4 separate regions of the Homo sapiens genome follow, and all the other regions are linked to region 4. Evidence: promoter capture Hi-C in human tissues and cell types (Jung and others, 2019). All regions are on one chromosome and are shown on one strand. The core of a region is centred on a gene start or on the middle of the fragment in contact, and the rest is flanking DNA. Distances in the headings are between cores, read along the strand shown. Region 1 overlaps SSU72 (SSU72 homolog, RNA polymerase II CTD phosphatase). Region 2 holds the start of TNFRSF18 (TNF receptor superfamily member 18). Region 3 has its middle 6.0 kb from the start of MIB2. Region 4 holds the start of CCNL2 (cyclin L2).

The links. The method cuts DNA at HindIII sites, captures the fragments that hold promoters and counts their contacts. A contact is called where the count stands out against the background at its distance.
Region 1: a fragment that was not itself captured here is called in contact with the fragment with the promoter of CCNL2 in region 4 in 3 of the 25 tissues and cell types used here (dorsolateral prefrontal cortex, lymphoblastoid cells and mesenchymal stem cells).
Region 2: the fragment with the promoter of TNFRSF18 here is called in contact with the fragment with the promoter of CCNL2 in region 4 in 1 of the 25 tissues and cell types used here (small bowel).
Region 3: a contact is called between a fragment that was not itself captured here and the fragment with the promoter of CCNL2 in region 4, in 2 of the 25 tissues and cell types used here (bladder and dorsolateral prefrontal cortex).

What each region holds. Positions count from the first base shown.
Region 1 is chr1:1,562,415-1,565,638 of GRCh38, forward strand. It overlaps SSU72 (SSU72 homolog, RNA polymerase II CTD phosphatase), which reads right to left. Exons shown (of 5, transcript NM_014188.3): 2 at 2,359-2,502. Among named protein-coding and RNA genes, the nearest start is that of SSU72, 11 kb to the right of the region's middle. The HindIII fragment of the contact is 6,810 bases long and covers 1-3,224 here.
Region 2 is chr1:1,205,232-1,208,423 of GRCh38, forward strand. It overlaps TNFRSF18 (TNF receptor superfamily member 18), which reads right to left and starts at 1,361. Exons shown (of 5, transcript NM_004195.3): 1 at 1,154-1,361; 2 at 139-261. The coding sequence starts at 1,340. RefSeq lists silencers at 1-144, 3,017-3,106 and an enhancer at 2,941-3,192. The HindIII fragment of the contact is 29,019 bases long and covers 1-3,192 here.
Region 3 is chr1:1,607,790-1,611,157 of GRCh38, forward strand. No RefSeq gene overlaps it. Among named protein-coding and RNA genes, the nearest start is that of MIB2, 6.0 kb to the right of the region's middle. The HindIII fragment of the contact is 9,421 bases long and covers 1-3,368 here.
Region 4 is chr1:1,397,917-1,401,207 of GRCh38, forward strand. CCNL2 (cyclin L2) reads right to left here and starts at 1,419. Exons shown (of 11, transcript NM_030937.6): 1 at 1,103-1,419; 2 at 681-755; 3 at 317-426. The coding sequence starts at 1,390. It overlaps MRPL20-AS1 (MRPL20 antisense RNA 1), which reads left to right and starts at 1,614. Exons shown (of 3, transcript NR_015434.1): 1 at 1,614-1,773; 2 at 2,242-2,387; 3 at 2,689-3,291. RefSeq lists silencers at 1,132-1,311, 1,382-1,621, 1,912-1,971 and an enhancer at 2,357-2,900. The HindIII fragment of the contact is 25,727 bases long and covers 1-3,291 here.

The DNA.
Region 1 (3,224 bases), core at 379-2,878, 160 kb after region 4:
GACCCAGCCCCAAACCAGACTCTTGAGCACGCAGCCCTAAACCAGACTCCGGGAAGGGGCTGCGTGGTCATGCACCGCCTAAGACTCAGAGGTGAAGATGGGAAGACCCAGCCCTAAACCAGACTCCTGGAAGGGGCTGCGTGGTCACGCATCGCCTAAGACTCAGAGGTGAAGATGGGAAGACCCAGCCCTAAACCAGACTCTTGGAATAGGCTCTGTGGCCACCCATCGCCGTAAGGCTCCGGGATGGAGACAGCATGGACAGGGACCTCGCACAAAGGCATGTCGGGAGGGCCTCCTTTCCAAGGCACAGCCCCACCTGCTCCTTCTCAGCCCACGACGGGAGCAGAGCCATGTCGAAGCCGTGCCCCACACAGGGTGGACAAGGACATGGCCTGACAGCTCCTCAGAAATCCTTAGAGATTTTTCCAAACGCAGGTTACCAGGGCTTCTGCAGAGAGAGGGGCAGCAGGACGTGCTGCTGACAGTCCCTGGGGACTTACACTGACTTGCAGTGAGAGCCCACATCTGCCACCAGGATGGCTCCCAGCACCACCGCGTCACAAGCACCACACTCTCCACCGTGGGACGCCCAGATGGCTCGGCAGGCAGGCCGGGCTGGGGAGCTGACAGCAGACGCCTGGGACTCTGCCCAGCGTCCTCACCCACAACCTTTTAACTGTAACTGGCAGAGGAGACAGCAGGGAGGGCAGAAGGTACAGTGATGGCTAGGATGCAGTTCTAGGTTTTGCCAGACATACTTTCAGGGGCCACTCCTGGCTACCTAATTAATCTACCTGTGTATAAGAATTTTTTAGCTTATTAAATATTCCAAGAGGCCAGGCATGGTGGCTCACGCCTGTAATCCCAACACTCTGAGAGGCCGAGGCAGCTGGATCACGAGGTCAAGAGTTCAAGACCAGTTTGGTCAAGATGGTGAAACCCCCGTCTCTACTAAAAATACAAAAATTAGCCAGGCATGACAGCGGATGCCTGTAATCCCAGCTATTCGGGAGGCTGAGGCAGAGAATCGCTTGAACTTGGGAGGGGGAGGTTGCAGTGAGCTGAGATCAAGCCGCTACACTCCACCTTGGGCAACAGGGTGAGACTCTGACTCCATCTCAAAAAAAAAAAAAAAAAAAAATACAAGAGTAGGGCTGAGCATGGTGGCTCACGCCTGTAATCCCAGCACTTTGGGAGGACGAGGAGGGTGGATCACCTGAAGTCAGGAGTTTAAGACCAGCCTGGCCAACATGGTGAAACCCTGTGACTACTAAAAATACAAAAATTAGCCAGGTGTGGTGGCGCGTGCCTGTAATCCCAGCTACCCAGGAGGCTGAAGCAGGAGAATCACTGGAACCCGGGAGGTGGATGTTGCAGTGAGTCTGCAGTGAGCCAAGATCTCGCCACTGCACTCCAGCCGGGGTGACACAGTGAGACTCTGCTGGGAAAGGGCGGGGATGGCAAGAGTGCCAATACATAGACAATGCTGGGCAAGGCCAGAGATGCTGGTCAAGGGCGGGGATGTCGGGAGAGGGCGGGGATGGCAACAGTGCCAACACGAAGATAAAAGGTTTAGCATTTGACACCTATTCTCTTTTCATTTGGAATACGTTTGGCCTGGCCTCCGTTCTGAAAACTACAAATCACTCACTATAACAAAATAAGATCCAGAAACTTTCCATTAGCGTGGGGGTGACCATGAAATGCCTGGTCAAAAACCCGGGCACTGATTGTCATAACCATTATGCAACTGGTGTTGCGTCCATCAGAATCTAGTTTAAGAATACTCTTCTCTCTATAGGAGTCTTCGCGGCAGACCTAGCCTGCTCTGTGTCCTCCTGAAATGAAGGAATGTTCTCTCCCATTATTTCTTCTAACAGCTTGGTTAGCAAGCTCCGCCCTCTTCTTTATCTGACCTTCTAACGACCTCACCAGATGTGTGAAGCAGCCCGGCTCCATGTGTATCAGGCACGCACGCACACACGCACGCACACCAACCTGCAAAGGAAATAACGGGGCAGCCCTGCAGTGTGAAAAGCAATGGGATTTTGTGGGTTCCACCTCCTCACCTAAGCATCCCTGGTCTACGCTATGTCACGACCCTCTGCTGAACCACGTCAGGGTGAACCCCACACCGTGTCTGTGCGCCTCACCACGCCTACTGCCATGGGTGGCACTGGAACTAACCCGTGGACGATCCGACGTGCACCAGGAATAGAAACCAAGCTCTCGCAAAGACAGAGGAGCCAGTGTGTGCACTGCACAGGGTGACACGCCTCCTGTGCCCGAGCCACACGTAACACCTTCCAGGGAGGACCACACGGGGGGTTTTTAAAGGGCAACCCGCTGGGATACAGTTCTTTGTCTTTCCTAAGAAGATCATTGTACATCTGGTCATATGTGGTTTTGAAATCATAAACATTGGGCTTGTCGGGAGCTGGTCCTGGAAGCTTCACGTGAGTCCCTGTTCCAAAGGATCGGACGCTGAATCCCCGTTTGCTGAAAGACAAAAGGAGAGAAAGAATCACAGTCACACTAAGACACAAAATTCCAAAAGCAAGGGACAGCAAATGGGATAGAAACAAAATGAGTAATTTCATTGGCTCATAGTAGAGAATATGTCTTCAAATTTTTAATCTAGGCCGGGCATGGTGGCTCGCGCCTGTAATCCCAGCACTTTGGGAGGCCAAGGCAGGCGGATCATGAAGGCAGGCGGATCATGAAGGCAGGCGGATCATGAAGGCAGGAGATCAAGACCATCCTGGCTAACACGGTGAAAACCCGTCTCTACTAAAAATACAAAAAATTAGCCGGGCGCGGTGGCGGGCACCTGTAGTCCCAGCTACTCGGGAGGCTGAGGCAGGAGAATGGCGTGAACCCGGGAGGCGGAGCTTGCAGTGAGCAGAGATAGCACCACTGCACTCCAGCCTGGGCGACAGGCTGTAGCAAGTTACACAAAAGCAATCAAACCAGAACTGACCATCACAAAGCCACATCTGAACATCATAGCTTGTTTAAGGCTTTACTTTAAACTGAAAGGACTGACTGATGTGGACTTGGGGAAGATTTCATCAGAACATTTTGGCCATCGACCAACGTCCTGGCTTTGGAGGATCCAAGTTCACAGGATTCCTAAGGGACTCACAAAGGTCCAACTGCCCGCTCCACCACAGGAAACTCTGTCTCCCCCAGTTTCCCAACACCCCCACGATGTGGCTCCA
Region 2 (3,192 bases), core at 111-2,610, 190 kb before region 4:
TGGCCTGCCCGGCCTCACAGGACTCCGGACCCCACACACCACATGTCCTCGCCGGACACCTGTGCCCACGAGCTCTGCCTCGGGCCCTAGTGGAACCCCTGGCCTGTGTGGACTCCCAGAGGCACCTCCAGGACTTACCCTGGGACTGTACCCCCTGGCCTGGGGGACAAGGGTGGTGCCGGCAGGTCGTGCAGCAAGGGTCTCCGCAGTGGAATTCAGGCTGGACACACATGCAGTCCCACTCGGAACAGCACTCCTCGCCTGGGCAGGAGACAGGCCAGCCCCCCAGCAGCTGGGCTGAGGCCCCCTCCTCCCCAGGCCTCCCCTCGGCCCTCCAGGGGAGTGAGGTTGTCCGTTCTCCACCCACAGTTGGCTCCAGGGAGCAGAGGGCTCCTGGCTGGGAGTCTGGACCCTGGGTTTATCCAGCTGTCTCTTTCTCCTGGGGCCATGTGGCCTGGCTACTCCCCCTTTGCGCCCCACAGCTGCCCCTGCCCAGGTGCTAACTCCATATGCAACCAGGAGCTGCCCCTGCAGGACCCAGGGGTGGCCCCCAACAGTGCACAGTCCCCTGGAGGCCCGTCGACACCTCAGAGGCCGCCTGCCTGGTGTCTGGGCGCTGCTGTCCCCACCACCAGCCACACTGGGCCTCCGGACAGAGCCTCCCTTCCCAACCCACAGGCCCTGGAGGAAGAAGCTCTGGGGTGACTTCCCTGCCAGCTTCCTCTCCAGACCAGCCGTGTCAGCTGAACCCTCATCCCCAGGTGCAGGTCAGAGGCAGGCAGCAGGCCAGACGGTGGTGCAGGGGGGCCCTCAACTGGGCAGGAGGGGGCTGGGCGATGGCCAAGGGCTCACGACCCGCCCAGCAGGACCTGGAACAGCCGTCCTCCACCTCCAGACCCCAGACCCCTCTTGAGGGCGCTCCCACCTGGCTCACCCCTGCTCCCGGCCGGGGCCACTGGCTGGAGCTGGCACACCTCCGCCTCCCTCTGGGATCCTGCCTCCCTCCGGAAGGCTCCCGCTGCTGGCGGCTCTGTGCCCACCCTCCTTAGACCTCAGCAACGCCGGTCTGAGCACGGGAAGGGGGGCGCCCACCCATCCCGGCTTCCGCGGGACGCCTTGGCCGGTCCGCGTTAAGTAAACGCGGTTTACTTACCCGGGTAATCGCGGCAGCAGCGCGTCGTGTGAACCCGGCAGCAGCGCGCGTCCGTTCCCGTCCCAAGCAGGAGGCGCCCAGGGCCGCACCCGGGACCCCCGGTGGGGCGCTGACCCAGGCTGAGCGCGCACAGCAGCGCCAGGCCGCACAGGGCCCGAAACGCGCCCATCGCCCCGTGCTGTGCCATGCTCGGGTTTCAAGAGCCCACAGCCAGTTGGACACGCCCCGTCCCCGTCCTCACCCGCCCTGCCCGGAGGTGGCTGGGACCGTTCATGACCTGAGAATCCCGACCCAGGTGAAGTGCGTGTGAGGAGGGGGTGTAGACACTGCGGACACAGCCCGGTCCCCCGCAGGTCGCCGGCAGGGGCGGGGAAACCAGGCTGGCGGGGATCAGAAAGGTTTTCTATGCAAAGTCTGCGGCCACATTGGTGTCCCCAGTGCAGGGGGCGGCGTTTATAGCACCTTGTCCCATGGGGGCCCCTTGGAGGGCGGGGGTCAGCCAATCACTCCTCCATCCCACTGCCTCCGGGTGGTATCTGCGAGTCCCCGAGAGGTCTCCACAAATTCTGGCCACCCCCAGAGAGCCTCAACCATGGAGCCCCGTGCTGGGGAACCCCACAGAATGGGGACAGGGACCCCTCGGCTCAGCACACCCCACCTGGCTGGCTTCAGGTGTGAAACTCACCATGGGCTGCAGGCCTGTGGGCTCCCCTCCCCCTTGCTTGCAGCTCTCCAGGACCCCCCTCAGGCCAACCTGGGAAGTTCCCCGGGGCTTGGGAGGGGCACCAGGAGGAGCTGGTGGGGAGACGAGAGGGTGCTGGCGCCTCCTCGGGACAGTGTCAGCCGCCCCCGCGGGCACCCAGGGCCCGGTCTCTCAGAGCCACCTTCATCCGTCACACCAGACAGATCCAGGTCCCGGAGGGAGTTGAGGAGGAGCCCCTCGCAGAGCTCTTGGGAGACTGTCCTATGTCTTTCTGAGCCTCAGTTTCCCCTGTGGGCACCGAGGGGTTCTGGGACCCTGCCTCCACCAGGAAGCCTCCCTGGATTGCCCAGCCCTGCTTCTGCGCCGTCCAGCACAGGTGGAGACCCCCATGAATGCTGGGGGTGGGGGCTCTCGGGAACGTGAGCGTGGATGTGGTTCAACACCCTTTTGAGACCTGCAGCCACCGCCTCACCCCGTAAGGCGGTTCCTCCTTTTCCAAGGTAAATGACAGGAATTAGCTGTTTGTGACACCCCGGAGTTCTCAAATCCAAGATGTAGGAGCCTGCCTTGGAGAGGCAGCCCTCAGACACTGCAGAGAAGGAAGGGGTCTCTGCAGCTCCAGGCCGCCCCGACGCTCGGAAGGAAAGGGGTGGGGCCAGCTGGGCCTGGGGGCCTTTGAGAGGCCTGGAGATCTTCAGCCCCGAGGCTGGGAGGGGGTCTGGGCCCCTGGATAGAAAGAGGCGCCATCAGTGGCTCACGCCCGTAATCCCAGCATTTTGGGAGGCCGAGGTGGGCCTCGGATCACCTGAGGTCAGGGGTTCGAGACCAGCCTGACCCACATGGAGAAAGCCCGTCTCTACTAAAAATACAAAAAAAATTAGCCAGGCGTGGTGGCGCACGCCTGTAATCCCAGCTACTCGGGAGGCTGAGGCAGGAGAATTGCTTGAACCTGGGAGGCAGAGGTTGCGGCGAACCAAGATGGCACCATTGCACTCCAGCCTGGGTGACAGAGCGAGACTCCATCACAAAAAATAAAGAATGCTCATCAGACCACACGGTGTGAGTCATCCATCTAGAGGCAGGGACAGAGTTAGAGGAGCGAGCAGTTTATGGGGCCAAGTGGGAGGCGGCCAGCGGGCAGAGGAGCCCCTCCCCCCCGCCCCGTGGCGCAGCTGACACTTTGAACAGCCGGAGAGCAGCTTGCCACACAGGGTGGTCCCCGGAGGGGCTGCAGGGGTGTGACGTCCACCCTCCCATCCCTCTCGCCGCAGAAGGCCCCTCCCCGGCTCCCCGTGACTCCTATCCTTGGGCTGCGAGGCTGGAGGTGACTTGTTCA
Region 3 (3,368 bases), core at 228-2,727, 210 kb after region 4:
CAATGCATGCTGAATGCATCAACATGCAGAATTCACTCACGGGTCACACAGTTAGTCAAAAATGTCGATGCCCTGCCAGATGGAGAGATGGGAGAGAATACGGATCCCTCCATGAGTCCAAGCCTGACGTGCACTCCCCTCGGGCCTCCTCTTCCTGTGCTCCAGGTTTTCTGTTTCAAGGCCGCTCTTCCCTTCCTTACTGTGTGTCAGCTCAGTCATGGATTTTAAACAATGCTTTCCATATATATATATAATATATGTACTATATATTATATATGTATATATATAATATGTATTATATATAATGTATGTATAATATATATAATTATATATATATGTATTTTTTTTTAGATGGAGTCTTGCTCTGTCACCCAGGCTGGAGTGCAGTGGTGCAATCTTGGCTCACTGCAACCTCTGCCTTCCGGGTTCAAGTCATTCTCCTGCCTCAGCCTCCTGTGCTTTCCATATTTTATACAGATTGTTTGCCAGGCACAGTGGCTCACACCCGTAGTCCCAACTACTTGGGAGGCTGAGGCGGGAGGACCCCTTGAGCCTAGGAGTTTGAGGCTGCAGTGAGCTATGATTGCACCCCTGCACTCCAGCCTGGGGAACAGAGCAAGATCCCCATCTCTAAAAAATAATTAAAAAATAGGCCGGGCGCGGCAGCTCATGCCTGTAATTCCTGCACTTTGGGAGGCTGAGGCAGGCAGATTGCTTGATGTCAGGAGTTGGAGACTAGTCTGGGCAGCACAGCGAGACCCCTGTCTCTACAAAATGTACCAAAAAAAAATTAGCTGGATGTGGTGGCACGAGCCTGTAATCCCAGCTACTCAGGAGGCTGAGGAAGGAGAATCACTTGAGCCCGGGAGGTCAAGGTTGCAGTGAGCCATGATTGCGCCTCTGTACTCCAACCTGGGCAACAGAGTGAGACCCTGTCTCAAAAATAATAATAATAATACCAATAAAACACATTATACAGATCTTTTATTGTTTCATTGAGAAGATCTTGCAGGTGACCTGACTTACCATATTGCTGAAAATAGTCATTGATTTCCTTAATCATTTGATTTTCATTCAGGGGCCAAATCTGGTCCACAAATATGTTATAAAAGTAGGTAACTGCGGCCGGGCACGGTGGCTCATGCCTGTAATCCCAAGACTTTGGGAGGCCGAGGCGGGCAGATCATGAGGTCAGGAGATCAAGACCAGCCTGGCTAACATGGTGAAACCCCGTCTCTACAAAAAATACACAAAAAAATTAGCTGGGCGTGGTGGCGGGCGCCTGTAGTCCCAGCTACTCAGGAGGCTGAGGCAGGAGAATGGCATGAACCCAGGAGGCGGAGCTTACAGTGAGCCGAGATCGTGCCACTGCACTCTAGCCTGAGTGACAGAGCGAGACTCTGTCTCAAAAAAAAAAAAAAAAAAAAGTAGGTACCGGCCGGACGCAGTGGCTCACGCCTGTAATCCCAGCACTATTGGAGGCCAAGGTGGGTGTATCACTTGAGGTCAGGAGTTCAAGACCAGCCTGGCCAACATGGTGAAATCCCGTCTCTACTGCAAAAACTCAAAAATTAGCCAGGCGTGCTGGCACGCGTCTGTAGTCCCAGTTACTCTGGAGGCTGAGGCAGAAGAATCACTTGAACCTGGGAGGCGGAGGTTGCAGTGAGCCAAGATAGTGCCACTGCACTCCAGCCTGGGCAACACAGTGAGACTCTGTCTCAAAAAAAAAAAAAAAAAGGTACCGGCCAGGTGCGGTGGCTCACGTCTGTAATCTCAGCACTTAGGGAGGCCGAGGCAGGTGGATCACTTGAGGTCAGGAGTTCAAGACCAGCCTGGCCAACATGGTGAAACCCCATCTGTATTAATAGTAAATCCAAAAATTAGCTGGTTGTGGTGATGCACGCCTGTAGTCCCAACTACTCGGGAGGCTGAGGCGGGAGAATCACTTGAACCCAGGAGGTGGAGGTTGTAGTGAGACAAGATTGCGCTACTGCAATCCCACCTGGGCAACAAGAAGGAAACTCTGTCTCAAAAAAAAAAAAAGAAAAGAAAAAAGAAAAAACATATTGTCCTGGCTGCTGAGGGGCCTAAGGCCACACACGTGGCAGTTAGCTCAGCCGTGCACCTGTGGGAGTGACAGACCTCAGCCTGGAAGACATTATCTGTGGATCTCCAGTGCAAAAGTGGCCAGTACCAAAATGGAGTCACTTATGTCAAACCCTGAAAAATGGAGCCAGGAGGCCACGAAGGACGGGCTCTCCCAGGTGTGCCAGGAAAGAAACTACGGAATTTCTCAAAACCACAGTACTGCCGCTAAGCTGCCTGCACGAGGACGCTTGCCTGACAAGGGCCGTCTTCACCTCCAGATGAATGCCAACTCCTGCAACAAGCCTGATACAGTTTGGCTGTGTCCCCATCCAAATCTCATCTTGCATTTCCCACAATCCCCACGTGTTGTGGGAGGGACCTGGTGGGAGGTAATTGAATCATGGGGCCAGTTACCCCCATGCTGTTCTCGTGACAGTGAGTTCTCAGGACATCTGGTAGTTTTATAAGGAGCTTTTCCCCTTTGCTCAGCAGGTTTCTCTCCTGCAGCCAGGTGAAGGATGTGTTTACTTCCCCTTCTGCTGTGATTGTTAAGTTTCTTGAGCCACGTGGAACTGTGGGTCAGGTAAACCTCTTTCCTTTATAAATTACCCAGTCTCAGGCAGTTCTTCGTAAGACCGTGAGAATGGACTAACACAAAGTCCCCGTCACCTATGCTCTTTGCTTCAAAGCAGCTTAGGTGGGCTTCTCCTTTCTGTTTTTTTAGAAGCTTCCCCTGTCCCAGCCTCTCTGGATGTGCCTGTGGTCTGCCATAGCACGCATATCCCAAACTGCAATTCCCCGTCATTCCTGGAGAAACTCTTTGGAGAGTCATCTCTCTGCTGTTGTGGCCATAGCGGGCCCATTTCCTGATGCATGGAATGTCACTGCGCCAACACCACGGGTTGCAGCAGAAAGAGAGTTTTAATCCTAAGGCTGCTGTACAAGGAGATGGCGTGAAGCAAGCAGGCTGCAGGGATCTTGTGGCCATCCGGGGGTCTCCCCATTGCTTCTGGTTCCCTCGGCCCATTTCTTTGGAATCCTGCCGACGCTGCTGTTTCATCCCTCCAGCCCACAGCTAGAATCACCCCAAAAGTGGCAGCAGGCAAGTTCCAACAAGGGACTGCCTCAAACCATCCTGAGGTGGGGCTGGTTGGTCCCAAAGAAAAGAAGCACTAAACGCCAGGGTGATCGGCCCAAAGCATTTGTTCGGGGAATTTATGTACAGAGGGAGGCAGCACATCCTCGGGCTGACAGCAAGAGATGGAGAGGTTCCACCTAGG
Region 4 (3,291 bases), core at 169-2,668:
CCTGCTCCAGAGCACTCAGAAACTTGTGGGACAGAAGCAGCAGCAGGGCCGTGCACTGACATGGGTAAAGCAGGAAGCCAGCCCCAGCGCGACCCGCCACAGCGCACTGTCCTCACTGGAGCCCCTGCCCTTACTAAACCGCATCTACTGATGCCTCTGAGCAGGCTCTGTTGGTGGAGCTTGAGACTGCGCTCATGAATATCCCACAGGTTTAGAGCCTCAGGCCTGTATTGTGTTATACAAGCCTTACTGTAACTTAATCAGAAATAAAGAAAATAGGCATCTATGATAGACTAGACAGCTCTGACTGACTCACTTTTTGTCTCTCAGCTGTCGAAGGCGGTGAAACACATTGATGACGTCCCGTATGCGTCTTGGGGCCTCTTCTATCTTGGAAGCCAGGTGGACACAGGCCATTGACACATGCTGAAGCGGAAGCATTGCAACACGCCCATGTTTGTCCCCAGCCACGGCGTCCTGACGGCCGCCAAAGGCTTGAGGGCTATTCAGACCAAAAGGGAGGTGCACCCAGGGGAAAAAAAAAGTCAAGAAACAGAACCCTCCGGCACAGAGCTCAGACTGGGGGGCAAGTACTCACTCCCTTAGTAACCGGGCAAAGTAACAAACCGTTTTACCCTCAACATACTTCGCTGGGAATGAAGTGCAGGAGGAAGCCTTACCTCCATGGAGTGCTTCACGAAGGACTTGGTATAAAAGAACCGCTGGAACAACACCTGCCCGGTAGCCATGGCCACCTAGAGTAGAAGAAAGTTTCCGTATTTTCAAACGCACCATTCAAAGCCTTCGCGGCCGAAAGTCATCGAGTAACGTGGGACTCCCCACGCAGAACCAAACACTGAAACGCTTCCCACGTCCACAAAGGCTCTTCGCGTCCCGCCGTCTCGGGATCCAGCGCACTGGCGGGCGGGGAGGCCCCGGGTCAGGGGCATGGGCTGGCTAGGGAATGGCGCCGAGGCTGGGGTCGGGGCAGGGGCTGGGGTCGGGGTCTAGGCGGGGGCGGTGCGGGCCCGACTCGCCGCCAACAAAGGCGGCTGCCGCCCCAGCGGTTACCTGGGCCGGAGGCTCGCGGCCGCGCCCTCACCTGCGGCAGGCGGAGCAGGATACCGGCCGCCTGGATGAGCTCGCAGCCCACCACGCGGAGGTCGGTCTCTGTGTCGGTGTCGAGGCCGCTCGACATGGACGGCGTGAAACGGAGCTTGTCGTCAGGCAGGAGGCAGTTCTCCAAGGTGATGAGCACCCCGGAGTACAGCCTGTCCCCGATCAGCACCCCCTGCGACCCTGAGGGTGCGCCCCCAGATCCCGGGGCGCCGGCCGCTGCCGCGGGAGCTGCCGACCCTGCAGCACCAGCCGCCGCCGCCGCCGCCGCCATTTTGTGCCGCCGACTCCCCTTCGGCTTCTTCCCTCAGGGCGGCTCCTCGCGAAGCTCCACGGCCGCCACCGCCCCGCCCCGTCGCGTGCCATTGGTTCGGCCCGCGACCAGCGCGACGCCGCCTAGCCGCAATTGGCTACATAACCTGCCCGTCAGCAACGCGCCTAACGCCGACGCCGGAACCTGGCGCGGGTGGGGCGGGCTCGTTACCCAGGGGACTCCGCGGTGCCGGCCGACCCGGAAGCATGTCTGTCCCTAGCGGAGGCGCGGGTGCCGTGCTGAGAGCGCCTGCCTGTGCGCCCCGAGCGGGGCTGGGACTCTTCCAAGATGCCCACGTTCGCACAGAGACCCCGGATCGCGGAAGCTCGCGTCTCGAAAGGCCTGTGGGTCAAGGGGGGCCATCTCGGTGGGATCTGGGGCGGGACGACCCCCACTGCTGAACCCTGGGCGCGGGGCAGGGTCAGAGGCTCCGCTCGGCCTCCCCCTGGATGAGACGCGCATGCCCGGTGTCCCCCGGCCGCCGTCGGCGTCGTGTCTTCAGTCCTTATCGACTCCAGACTTTGGGGATGCGTATTAACGCCAGACTCCTGCAAAGTCTTGCCTTCAACACTCAGCCCCTGGGGAGAGACGGGTGGAGGGATGACTGGAAACGTGGCCTCGACGTCCCTACAGAGCCCCTCCAGCGTGGGGAGGCCTAAGTACCTCAAGGTTCAGGCCCACGGAAGGAGTCGGGGGAGCGAGGCCCGGTGATCTACGTGTGAAGGAGCTTGGACAGGACCTCACAAACGCCAGGGAGACGGCGAGGGGGTTCGTGCGTTTGTAACGTCTTGACATCGCTGATCCTCCCGCAGGCGGTCTCACGCCCTGCCCGTCCTGGGTTCACGGTTTTTCATCACCTGCGGCTGTCCTGCGATCGACCACAGCTGTGCAGGAGGGGCAGGAGGTATCTGTTGCTGCAGTTACCGGAACCTTTGCCAGGACTAGTACAGGACCACGGGTGAGGATGGTGGGGAAGCCTGCGTGGGGCAGGGAACGGTGAGGCAGGAAGAGGGAAGGGCAGCAGAGGCCTGAGTGGTTGCAGGTTCACACACTGAGCTGCCAGTAACTGCCCAGCTCAGACGGGCTCAAATTCAGAAGCCACCATTGCTCCTCACCCCCACCCCCAGGTCAGCTGTCCACTAGCTCTGCCATGACTTGATACTGCAGCTCAAACAGTGCCAACCAAAACCCACTCTCCTCACCGCCTGTTATGGGTAACACGGTATGGTTACAGCTTTACTCATGTCCTCTTTCCCCAGGCTGGTAGCTCAGGGATGTCTCGTCTGTGAGTTACAGCTGCACGCTCTCCAGGAAAGAAGGAATTTCCTCTTCTCTGGAAACCCCACCACACAGCTGGTTTCTCATTGGTGCTGCTTGCCCATTCCCTGAGCTGTGACTGCCAGAGGAGTGGGAGGTTGGTGGTGCCTCCAGCCCATCAGGGGCAGGCCCTGGGACCGCCTGGGAACAGGAGGACTATGGCACAAACCGAGTGAGTGATGGGAGCAACCCGCAGGGCTCTGCCACATCCCTGTCTTCCTTCACTGACATGAAACGCAGAAAAGGCAGCTTTGCCACAACACAGGAGCACGCACCGAATGTGGCCGCCCAGGGCTCTGTCCTTGACCCTGTTGTCCAGGACTGTTTACCAAGGGCTGACAGGCACTGAGTGCCCCGTGCACCTGGCCAGACACTGCACTCATGCAGCGGAAAGGACAGTGAACGAGACTTTGTCCCTGGCCTCCAAAGGCTTAGGGCGTAGTGGCTGTCATGAGGCACAGTGACAAGGGCCAGGAGGGGGACCTCTTAGGGGGCCATGCAGTGATGGAAGCCAGAAGGAATGAAGGCCTGCAGTGAGGATGGAG